Regions from separate parts of the Homo sapiens genome. Here region 1 is linked to region 2. The links are contacts of gene promoters, found by promoter capture Hi-C in human tissues and cell types (Jung and others, 2019). All regions are on one chromosome and are shown on one strand. The core of a region is centred on a gene start or on the middle of the fragment in contact, and the rest is flanking DNA. Distances in the headings are between cores, read along the strand shown.

Region 1 (5,897 bases), core at 757-3,256, 66 kb before region 2:
ATTTGTATGCACACTGAAGTTTCAGAAATGTTGCTCTGATAGGTTTTATTTACAAGTTTAAACACAGGTCACCTTACATTTGTGGCAGAATCAGACCTGTAAGGCTCCTTCTGACTTTTAAGAGACTCAGGCTTTGAGAACTTGTTTTTGATAGTTGGAACAGCAAAACAGCACTGCAACGTGAGTCCACACATGGGCCTGAGTATGCTTATACCATTTCTGAATGGCCCAAAGTGTTTATTCACTTTGGACAGAACTGATCAGAAATGCAGATTCACTGAGCCTGAGACAAATACATAATTGATTGTCCCCCCTGCCCCCTTCTTTTCACATGCAACATGTGGATTCAATGAACTCTAGTCAAAGACTCACAAGAATGTGACCTTGCCCTCTTTCTTTCTCTTTTCTCTTACAGCCTGCTTTTCCTCCTTTAAATACTTGTATTAATCCATTCTCTATTATATATATATCTATATAGCACTGCTATAAAGAAACACCTGAGACTGGGTAATTTATAAAGAAAAGAGGTTGAATTGGCTCACAGTTCCACAGGCTGCACAGGAAGCATGATGCTAGCACATGCCCACCTTCTAGGGAGGCCTCAGGAAGCTTACAACTATGGTAGATGGCAAAGGGGGAGTCAGCATGTCCTAGAAGGCAGGAACAGGAGCAAGAGAGAGGGGAGGTGCCATATAGATTTAAACAACCAGATCTCGTGAGAACTCTACCACGAGAACGGCACCAGGGGATGGTGCTAAAACATTCATGGAAATCCACCCCCATGATCCAATCACCTCCTGCCAGGCCCCACCTCCAACATCAGGGACCACAGTTTGACATGAGATTTGGTGGGGACACAGAACCAAACCATATCAATATTGAAGACCTCAAAATCCTCTTTGGAAAAAGTACAGGCCACAGGTCCTACTGTGGCTTATGTCCCTTTAGCCCAGGCATCTCCTCAACTTTGGCAAAATAAACCTCTAAATTCATTAAGACTCACCTCAGTCATTTTCTTTGGTTTCAAGGTATCTTTAATTATAATTACTGATTCTATTTACATATACCTTGATAAGCGATTATCCATACAAAATAACAAGTTCCTATTCTACTCAACCATATCATACTGAAAAATATAAAATATAGCAAAACTTGAAATATTGCTATCCTTTCCTTTGATTCTCAGTTTCAGTAACTGGATAAGGATTAAGTTTTAAACATACAAAGTTGCTTCTCCAAAAGTAAACAAAAGAAATCCATTGACTCTAAGTATTTGTTAGTGTTTTCCTCATGGATCTGATGCCAGTGATGTCTTCAGCACAAAGCACTCAGGGTCCCTACACAATTCCCATTAACCTTCTGCCCATATAATGCTTTGTTTCTTGCTTTCAATTTTAGAAATAAATTTCAATCAATCTCTCCAACAGCTGGAAAGAAAGAGTAAATATAATCTCTCTTCTCTTTCAGAGTTCGTTTTTGAAACTATAATTCAAAAGCACATTCTGGGCAAAGTAGGGACAGTAGCTTCATTCAATCTTATATGCTAACTCAAGTAGACAAAGGCTGTGAAATATCTGTCCCTCACTGTCCCTTCACCTCTGAGGTTTCACACATAAAAGCTAACAGCTATTTCTTGAAGAACAAGTCAAACACAGCAGCTATAAACAAATAACCTAATAAAAAAAAAGTTTTGGTCTAGATATCTTCAGAGATTACAAACTAAAATAGGTGGCAGTATCAAGCAAAGTCAAGGCTTCAGAACAGAAGAGAGGATATTAACATCAGTATATTCAGCAAACTAATAAAAAGACAAAACATTAAAACGCAGATCAATGTTTACATTGAGTAGCTTCCTTTAGGAAAATGAAACATTCGTTTCCTGAGAAAGGCAGCACTAGCAAAAATGTGTCACTAAATTGTATATTCGTCAGTACTTCAAACTAAAATTTTATGAAAAGCACAGAAAGAGTTGTAAAGCAAAAGCAGAACCGTCAGAACCGTCAGAAGCACTGCTTTCTGTTCAACCTGTACCTGGGGCAATGCTGCATTTACCTGGGACCGCAAGGATGCAAATATCTGAAGGCAAAGTCAGCTAGTTAATATTGCATTCTCCCTTCCACTCAGAGAATCTCTGCAGAAGGAAATGGGGTTCAGTTCTTTAAAATAAGCTTGGCTAGAGCACAACTCTGGCTTCCTCTCCCCAAAGTGATGTGGGCTGTAGTATGCATCACTTAGAGGCATTTCATGGTGCGCTTCCCAGCTCGAAGGTCTTCCTAGAAAGATCTGGTCAGTTTACTGTTTAGGAGGGAAATGTCCCTAGCTGAATTCAGACCAATTGCCTCTGGAACACATCAATCCTTTCAATGAAAGGCTTTATGCTTCTTTCTGACTCAAAGTTTTCTCCTCATGATACCAGGGACAACTTTTAAGGCATAAACAATAGAGATGAAACAAAGCTACTAAAATTTTTAAAAACCTTAAAAATCTCTCATCAAACAGAGCCGGTCATATTAAAACAAGAAAGACAGAGAGAGCTCAAGAGGGGACAGGCAAAGAGAATTAACAAGGAAGATACTGATTTTGCTCCTACCCTGTATAACCTGAACAATTACAACAATTTTGTGTAATACCACGAATATAAAGAGATTCATGGAACTTCTTTGTATTATTTATCTATAAAAAGATCAATCAAAGTTTGTTCTGAGCCATTGACCACACAGATGTACTGTGAACAAGTACAAATTGTGGCCCTCCTACATGCAAACAATCAACGTGGTGGTTACGCCCTCTTCTTGCCACTTTGCCTCATGTTACATGGGACAAATATGACCTTATTTCATAAGCAGAAAAACAAAGAGCTCACTTCTGGTGCAATCTTTAATTCTGCTGTTTCTGACAAATACAACAGCATCCAGTTACCCACCTCCAACTTGTGACCCTACCTATAAGATATGACGTGATTCTCCCTTTGGACTGACAAAGAATTGTTCTCACACTCACACCTGCAATGAAGAGAAATTGTGCTTTGCACTCAGCCTGTGGGGACTCTAGAAACCAAACTCTTTATAAAAGAAATAAGCCCTTCATAGGAGACATGGTGGCCATACCATCATCTTTCATTGCTCTCCTGCCAATCAAACCTTCTATCTTATAAACAATAAATAAGCTCTCCACCAAAAGCTTCTTGTGACATTCTCATTAGGAATACTTCTACATTGCACATGGACATGTCTAGGAGTTTGGAAAGCATTCCACACTACTAAGAAGGAAATTTCATTTAAGGAGGCGGCTTTGGCTTGGACTTGTGATTTCAATGTCACAAAATTTTTTGCCTTCCAGGGAAAGCAAAGGATTAATTGGGGACTGAGGAGTGCTTTTATTCATTTCCAACAACAAACTAACACTAACATTTATTTTTAAAAACAAAATTATTTATAAAGGATATAATCACTCAATGGAGCATTTGCTCATTAAGTTTATAAACACGGAAAACTTGAGCTTTCAGATGCTTGTAATTTGCTAATGCCCTTTTCGTGAACTTGGAGCACAAGAGGCCTACAATGTGCAATATGCTCATTTGGGAGAAAATTTTGCTGTTAGCTTTTAACTCATTTGTTTTTGAGCATTCCAGGCAACCATGCCTAAGTCTTTAGAGAAACGTGTCTGTGTGTAGAATTCTTCAGGACTACAAAACACACTATTACAACTTGAAGGACAGACTGAGATTAGAAAAATGTTCCAGATTGGGCCTGGTAGCTCATGCTTGTAATCCCAACATTCTGAGAGTCCGAGATGGGAGGATCACTTGAGGCCAGGAGTTCGAGACAAGCCTGGGCAACACAGTGAGACCCTGTCTCTCCAAAAAAAAAAAAAAAAAAAAAAATTAAATTAGCCAGGCATGATGGTGTATGCCTACAGTCCCAGCTACCTGAGAACCTGAGGTAGGAGGGTTACTTGAGCCCAGGAGGTCGGGGCTTCAGTGAGCTATGATCGTGCCGTTGCACTCCAGTCTGGGAGATGGAGTGAGACCTTGTCCCGAAAAAATAAAACAAAAACAAAAAAATGTTCCAAAGTTGGGTAAAAATATAAAATGGTTAAAAGAACAGACATGGCAATTATTTTTATATGGTCCATTTAAAAAAATCATAGGCTTAAAAAGCAATTTTTAGCCCAGGCATGGCAGTTCACACCTGTAATCCCAGCAGTTTGGGAGGCCGAGGCAGACGGATCACCTGAGGTCAGGAGTTCAAGACCAGCCTGGCCAACATGGCGAAATGCCGTCTCTACTAAAAATACAAAAATTAGCTGGGCGTGATGGCATGTGCCTGTAATCTCAGCTACGCAGGAGGCTAAGGTTGGAGAATCGCTTGAACCCAGGAGGCAGAAGTTGCAGTGAGCTGAGATTGCGCCACTGCACTCCAGCCTGGGCGATAGAGGAAGATTCTGTCAGGAAAACAAACAAACAAACAAACAAAAACACACAATTTTTATACTGTTGGTGAATTCAGAGGTCACATGAAACTTTTTTCTCCATCATCATTTCTGATTTTAAAGAATAAAATAAGTCATTAATAAGAACAAAAATAGGTTAGGTTCTCTCTTGTCCTTTATAAAGCCTTTCAGCCACATAAATTTAATTAAGTATAATATTGATATGGACATGGCAGAAGACAGGAAAGTTAAAGCAAAAGAGGCAATTTGGCTATATGTTTATTTTGATAAACTTTATCTGGCTATGCATGTATATATGTGCGTCTGTGTGTGTGTTGTGTACGCTTTTGTGAATGCCAAAACCTACAAGGTTGGTATCTCACTAGGAGTATTACCTCTGCTACCTGTCATCATAAAGCTCACAGATTTCTCATTCTTCCTATTAAAAGCATTGTTGACATTCATTAAAATGCATACAGTATTGAGCAGATAGCTTATTCTATCATGAGTGGCCCTCCCTGATTTAGTGCTACAGCTGGTCAGGCACCCATCAAGGGTGCCTCTGATTGGGGCGAGGGGAGTCCAGAAAAAGACAGTGACTGGAGCACTGTCTGGAGGGGCACCAGGTTCACAGGGCTCCTGAGAAGCCTGCATTCAGTGTGGTGGCGTGCTCTCCACCTCCCTGACATGGAGAATCCCATAAGAGGTGCTTCTCTGATTGAAGCTTGAGTAACAAGCCCTTCATGCAAGCACTCTACAAGGTGACCCCACACCTTCCCTCCATGACTGTATCAGGCATCCACCTACAACCTCACTGTCCTGCCTTCTAAGCAACTGACTCATAACACCTGGAATTGAAGACACCACACGCCCCAATCTTACCATAAAAATACCTCCCTCCGTCTTGTGTTCTGTCTGTTACCCATAACCTGCACATCAGGAAGGAGACTTTTCTGTGATTTACAACATCCAATGCGAGCCTTCCTTTCCTAATTTCAGAACTAATAAAGCCAAGCACATCCTGCCTTCTCCCTGAACCTGGCGTGGTGTTACCAAACACTGAAGGAAAGTGATATGGAGATACATGATCACACAACTGGACACAAACTCACAGTTGCTAATCCATAGCTTATAAATATATTACACATAGGGATCTTAATTTTGACTGGTACTGTATGTATCATGTTGAGATACATACAAGACTTTTCCAACTAAAACCGTTCTTGGAAGACTTAAATTATATTTCCTGGAAAATGGGTCCACTATCAATAATTTAGCTCAGTGGTTCCTGAGTATTAAGAAATCTAGTTAAGAACTAGAAATACCATTTGACCCAGCCATCCCATTACTGGGTATATACCCAAAGGATTATAAATCATGCTGCTATAAAGACACATGCACATATATGTTTATTGCGGCACTATTCACAATAGCAAAGACTTGGAACCAACCCAAATGTTCAACAA
Region 2 (6,385 bases), core at 2,303-4,802:
GGAGATGTATATTTTCATGAAGACTGATCGACCCAATATCTCTGAGTGAATTCTGATTGACTAGATGTATAAGTAGATTTACGTAGTCAATATGTTCCTAAAAAACTGGAGGCAAATCAACTTTCACATACAAATTATTTTCATGTAAACTTGCATTGTAAGATCAGACCTGCCATACCCTCACTCCTGATTGATAATCAGCACTGTGCTGCTCAGAGCACTTGCTGGAGTCTGAAGCTTACCCATGTGTACATACCCTTTCCTAACTCTTTGATGCGTCTGGATTCCATTCCACCCATGAGGAGGTGCAGAATGAAACAGTTTAAATCACCTGAAATGAGCAGTGACCACACTCTAAGATACCAGCTAAACATCAGGAGAGAAAATACAAACAAAGCAATGCTCTCTCCTCTCTTTATATTTGGTTCTAAGAAGCTGGAGGAAAACAAAGTATCATAAGACAGTGAGGTTTCACCAATTTCTCTGTTAACTGGCAGTATCCTACAATCTCCCTCCGGAATTACTGTACGATTACCCTTTAGTTAGGGCCACCCTCAAAGTAGAGCTGGAAGGAAACTTCAAAGGATACAGAACCCCAAGACCTCTGTACTTAAACATGTGAGCTACACAAGATGCCTCATTATATGGCTGTAAGTTGTATTGATAAATTCAAATGAAGACAGTCATATTTATCACCTTAGGACTCTTCTGTAAATATGTCACCTGCCTTCTCCTGCCCTATTGGAAGGTGACATGACATTCCCTCTCCCAGCCTTTGGTGTCTCCTTTAGACAAAAACAAACAAACAAAAAACAAAAACAAAAAAACGTCTTATAGAAGGGGGCTGCTTAGAGCCTGGAGCAAGCCACTCAGAATGTAAAACTCAAAGCTTGCCTGGTCACAAAGGCAACACAGTACTGAGGCATGATTCACTTGGAAATTATAATAGAGCAAACCACCTTCCTCCTTAGTAGGATTTTTGAATAAGTCATAGCAAATAGTACCAAAGCTCTTGAATGATGCCCTGTGATTCTTCAAGAATCAAACCCCTTCAGACAGTGGCCTATTAATTCCCAGAAACCCATGTTGAATGATAAAGTGAGATGGGGCGGAGGAGGGATAAATGTCTAGCCAAGAAAACAAAATTATCAGTTTTCTAAACTCGGAGTTAAATTAAGTCAACCCTGAGAAGGAAAGCTGGAACTTTAAGGTCCTTCTAGGATGAACTTTTAACACTGGAGGATGTGAGACCTCTCTACCACCCAAGGCCATTTTTCTTTGGAAACATGCCCAGTTGTGACAAAGCTAGACAACAGAAGCACCCCGCCCCTCCTCAGGCACCCACCCACCCAAGAGCTGAGCGCACTGGTCTTTGTTGCCCTTTTTAGAAGCCTCCAGGACTGTTCTCTGAAGCAGGTTTGCACAGCAGTAAACATTGAGTGACATCCTCTTTCAACGCTGCATTTGTGATCTGTGAAGTACCAGTCCCAGCATTGGTTTAACGCCTATAAATACACTCCGTTGTCCTATCACTGGTACTTCCTACTTTGTAAGTAGCAAAACAAAAATAGGTGATCCAATCCAAATTAATTTCCATGTCTGACAATTACATTTCCAAACAGCCAACATGGAACATGTTCTATTGATCCTACAATCCAGCTCTAGACAATATGAAAAAGGGGGGAAAACTCCAAATTCAGCATCTTGAACTTAAAAGACCCTTCAGAAACATCACCTTCTCCCCACAACAGTGCTGAAGTAGCTCAGGCCCACTCCACCTATGTTTGTTTCTATCCTGGTACATTCCAATTCTATCAAATCAAAAGGTTATTCCTATTAGGCAGAAGCTGAACCCATCCCCTTGAATAGGGAGGTGTTCATTACATCTGTCTGTGTAATGAACTTGTCATTTCCCCAAACGGTCTGGACAGTCTCCTACAAAAAAAAAAAAGAAAAGAAAGAAAAAAATACTCCATGGAATCTATGGTGTGTCAGTCCCCTTCCTAACATCTGAGTCAGACTACGTGTGTCTTTACTGAGGTTCTGGGTGCCCAGGGTGTATCACTTTCAGAATTGCTTCAGTAACTGAACTATGGCTGTCTTCCAGCCACGGACAACACAAGCACTATCTATTTTAAAACAATTTTCCTAACCCACCGGCAATGGAAGAGATCCCATAGGTCACCGACTTCCTATTGAAAACAAATTATTTCTCTCTCAAACTGCTTGCCGTCTCTCAGAATTAATGCGTGTTTATGTGTGCATATTTTTATCTTTGGCCATGCAACTCTTGGAGCAAAGAGGACCACCCCAAATTTTACCGACATGCCTGAGCCATTCAGAGCTTTAGAAGAGAAATGAACGAGTGCTGAGAGCCCTTAAGCCCAGGACTTCTCTCACACAAACAGTAAGTGGAAAGGAAAAAACAAAAACAAAAACAAAAACTAACCCTCCGTAGAGGGAGGGAGCAGGGTGGATGATAGGGAAAGGACATTAACCAGCAGACCAAAGGCAGCCGCGGCGGCGGCACTTCGCGAACTGCCTGCAGAGGAGAGTGAAATCTGTTTCGTGTACAATAACCAAGCACCCTCTGGCTGCCTCGCATGGGCACGAATAATAAATACACCGAGGTGGGCAAACAGATGCAACGAAACGAGCCACCCCAAAAAGGTCAAAACTTCAGAAATCCCGGGGGTCAAACCACCCACACAAACACATCAATCAGTCGGAGCGAGAGAAGGGACTTGGATACTTAGCAAAGGATCCTAAATTGTGTTTTTCCTTTCAAGCTCTGGCTTGCAAAGTACGGTGGCTACATGCAAAGCTAGAGGAGAGCAGGAAGGCTGAGGGCGGCAGGGTGCGGGTGGGAAGGGAGGGGTGTCTAACACCAGCCACCCAGGCCTCGATGTGACGAAAGTCGTCAGCAGCCCCGACCACATCCCAGCCCCTCCGCCCAGGCCGGCAGACGCCCCTCGCGGCTCCCCCACCCCAGCTTCCGTCCCTGGCAGCAACCCCGCCAGCCCCGCACCAGCAGCAGCCCCGGCCCGGGCCCCGCGCAGGCAGCGCCACGACCGCGGCTCCCATCCCTTCCGTGCGGCAGACACCCCGCAGGCCTCCCTCCCTGCCCACCCGGGGATGCCCGGGTAGCCGAGCCGGGGCGGGCTGCACCGCCAGCTCCCCCCGCCCCAGAGCAGGCAATGGCTCACACTTACCTTGGGCGTTCGCGGGGGGGCTGAAGGTGGCAAGCCTCCCGCCCCCCGCCCCTGTCCTCCTCGTCTTTTTTCTTCCTCCCTCCTCCTCTTCTTCCTCCTCCTCCCCACAGTGTGTCCGGGGCTCCCCCTCCTCCCCGCCGCTTGGAGTAAGAACCCAAAACCCCGAAGCCGGGCCCGCGTGCAAGCGTGCGGGAGGCGGCGGCGCGCGGCCAGCTCTCCAGTAACTGAGCGCGGCGCGCAGCTCCCAACTAAAGTGTGAAAGAAGCAGCGGCCGCGGCGGCCGCGGCACGGAACGTCCCCCCGGGAGTGGGCAGGGAGCGAGCGGGAGCTTGCGAGGAGCGAGCGAGGGAGGGGAGCTCCTCGCTCAGTCACTCACTCGAGGGGCGGGGGCAGCAGACACTCCCCCACCGCCGGCCCCTCCCCGAGCCTAGCTCCCGCGCGCGCCTGGCTCTCCTCCCCGGGGCGGGGCCTGCGGAGGCCGCCGGGGCGCAGCGCGCTGGGGAGCGGGTTGGGGGCTGCTAGGGCTGCGGGGCGGGAAGGAGGCGGCAGTGTGTGTGTGTGTGTGTGTGTGTGTGTGTGGGCAGGTGTGTGTGTGTGTGTACGTGTGTGCGCGCGCGCCCTGCAGCGGCCGGCCAGCCGGAGGGAAGACCCCGGCGGGAAGACTGCGTCCCGTCCGGCCTTCCCGGGCCTGTCACTTGGGCGGTGGCGTGGGAGCGGCGAGGCTGCTCGGGGGGCAGCCGGGTGGGCCCAGCTCTAGGGGAGATTCGGGTCAGCCCCTGAGCCCAGCCTCCCGGCTGTGCCTGCTGGAAGCAGACGGAGGGAAGGCCGGGCGTCTTTGGCCCACCGCGCGGCCGCTCCCCTCCCGGGCCAGGCTGAACGGGCGGGCGCAGCCCAGAGGCCCGGGCTCTGCCACCGATCCGCCTCCATACTGACCCGAGCTGCGGCGCCTGCAAGATTAATGAAGCATCCGCGATTCGGTAGAGGCGGCACGGGGAGGAAAGACACAAGATCGTGCTGCCCCCCTCTCCCCACCCTTCTCAGCCTCCTAGGACCTAAAGGCGTAGGCTGCGTCTGCTGGGCGCGTCCGGAGTGGTCCAGAGAGATCGCCATCCACCACTGCATCCGTCCAGTTCTTTGTGGACCCTCACAGAAGCTCAATCAATTTCCCACCCTCTGGAAAAGGGTATTTTTCTCTTCCCTGGCATATTGGGTGTTTCTTGTGTGCACCTAATTGATCTTTTTCCATTGATAGCCTTTGGATGTCTTTTGTGCGGCTTCCCCGCGCTTCACTGCTCCCTCATTGCCTTAGACACGCGAGGAATGTCAGGCCCCCAGAGTGAGAACACCCAAGAAAACAATAGGGGCAAAAGATCCTCCCTGGGCCTCGCGGATTATGCACAAACCAGATCATTTCCCACATTCGGCCAGGGTGAAGATGGAAAATGGAAAAGAACGCCATCAGAGTGGTGACACTGACGAGAAAAGCCAATTCATAATTTAGTTTAATGAAATGAGTTAGTAATCAACCACTAATGTCTAGGAAATTGGCCTTTTTTGAAAACTGGTTTTCCCTTTCTCCACCCCTTTTTTTTTCAAATTAAAAGACTAGTATCCCACTGTTGTTGTTTTAATTTTTATTGTTTTCAGGGATGGGGTCTGCTGCCAAGGCTGGATTCGAACTCCTGAACCCAAGAGATCCTCCTCAAGGGATCTTCCCCATCTCAGCCTCCCAAGTAGCTGGGACTACAGGCCAATTCCACCGCACCCTGCCTAACATCACATTGTTCAGGAACCTCAACTTACATTCCATTTTTACAAAATATCCATATTCTGGTTCATACTTCTTGGAGCCCAAATTTTTTGTAGTCTAGCCTCTTGGAAAGGAGCGGTTAAGAAGGGAGGGTAGATAAATTGAGATTTCAATCAGGGGCAGCCAGCCCCATCCCTTTCACCACTGGTGACTTGTTTCATTTCTTCTTTCTTTCCTCATCTGTAAAGGCATTGATAATGATCGTTCCTACCTCATAAGCTTGTGAAAGTAAAAAGAAAATAAAACGAGGTGGCAATGCATGTAAAACACTTTGCATAGTGCCTGACACATGGGTGAGAACTCAATAAATAGAAGCTATTGTTTCAGACTTGATTATTTTAAACTCAAATTTGGTAGAATTTTATTCTCTTTCCATTCCTTCTGAAAAGTTAGGGAGGAGAATGGACACAGCTGATGGATTTATTCAAATGTAGTCCACTCTTCCCTTGGGTTTTTACGCCCTGCCTGAAACTTTTGCCTGTGGTAAAATGAAATAAATACATAACTGAGGGGTGTGTGTGTGTGTGTGTGTGTGTGTGTGTGTGTGTGTGTACATCCATATAAAAGGATCTTTGAGCACAATAAGTTTTGTTCTTCCCCCTCCTTTTTCCTTCTCTCATCTACATAGACCACCCTGAATAGACAGAGCTCTGTGATGTTGACCTGTGTACCCCTTCAGGGCTCAGACAGTGCTTGGTACTGTAGATTTCTTGAGGGCAAGGCTATGGGGTTTGCTTGGCTTGATATCCTTAGAACTAACCGAAGGCCACAGAAGAAGCACTTCATACATGTGTAGATGAAAGAACATCTATACTACGAACTTTTAAAGCTAGGTTTAGATTACTCAAGATAATACAGGTCCATTGTGGAAATTTTCAACATTTGAAAAAAGCTAAGTACAAAGAAAATGAAAATCATAATTCCACCATCTAGAGAAAAGCATTCAATAAGTGCCTCAAGTTTGTCTGTTTTCCCTTCATTTATTTCATCATCATTCAATCAACAAACATTTATTAAGTACCTAGTTAGAGATCAGACAATTTACCAATACAAGAAAAGATTGTATATGTGTTGTAAGTGTTGTTTGTTTCTCATAGAAACTGCTCCACAGAAGCAACATTTTATACAGTAGTAAGGTTCTCAGGATAGCCTACAAAAGCCCATGGAAGGAATCCCACAATTAAATGACCATGCTGACCAGAGACAATCCAGATTTTGTGGGACTTGAAGCACTTAAAATTTGGGGAGCCACCTTCAAGATTAAAAAAGACAAAAGTACTAAAACCCCTTAGGAGAGGCTAATGTAAATGAAGGTCGTGAAACAATTTGGGGAGCTACCTTCAATGTAAGAAAGACAAAAGTA

Evidence for each region. The method cuts DNA at HindIII sites, captures the fragments that hold promoters and counts their contacts. A contact is called where the count stands out against the background at its distance.
Region 1: a fragment that was not itself captured here is called in contact with the fragment with the promoter of C1orf21 in region 2 in 2 of the 25 tissues and cell types used here (psoas muscle and spleen).

What each region holds. Positions count from the first base shown.
Region 1 is chr1:184,449,449-184,455,345 of GRCh38, reverse strand. All of the region lies in intron 1 of C1orf21 (chromosome 1 open reading frame 21), which reads right to left. Among named protein-coding and RNA genes, the nearest start is that of C1orf21, 65 kb to the right of the region's middle. The HindIII fragment of the contact is 4,324 bases long and covers 1-4,168 here.
Region 2 is chr1:184,384,196-184,390,580 of GRCh38, reverse strand. It overlaps C1orf21 (chromosome 1 open reading frame 21), which reads right to left and starts at 3,552. Exons shown (of 6, transcript NM_030806.4): 1 at 3,213-3,552. C1orf21-DT (C1orf21 divergent transcript) reads left to right here and starts at 3,877. Exons shown (of 1, transcript NR_172919.1): 1 at 3,877-4,828. RefSeq lists silencers at 3,517-3,776, 3,807-3,916, 4,007-4,066. The HindIII fragment of the contact is 5,612 bases long and covers 564-6,175 here.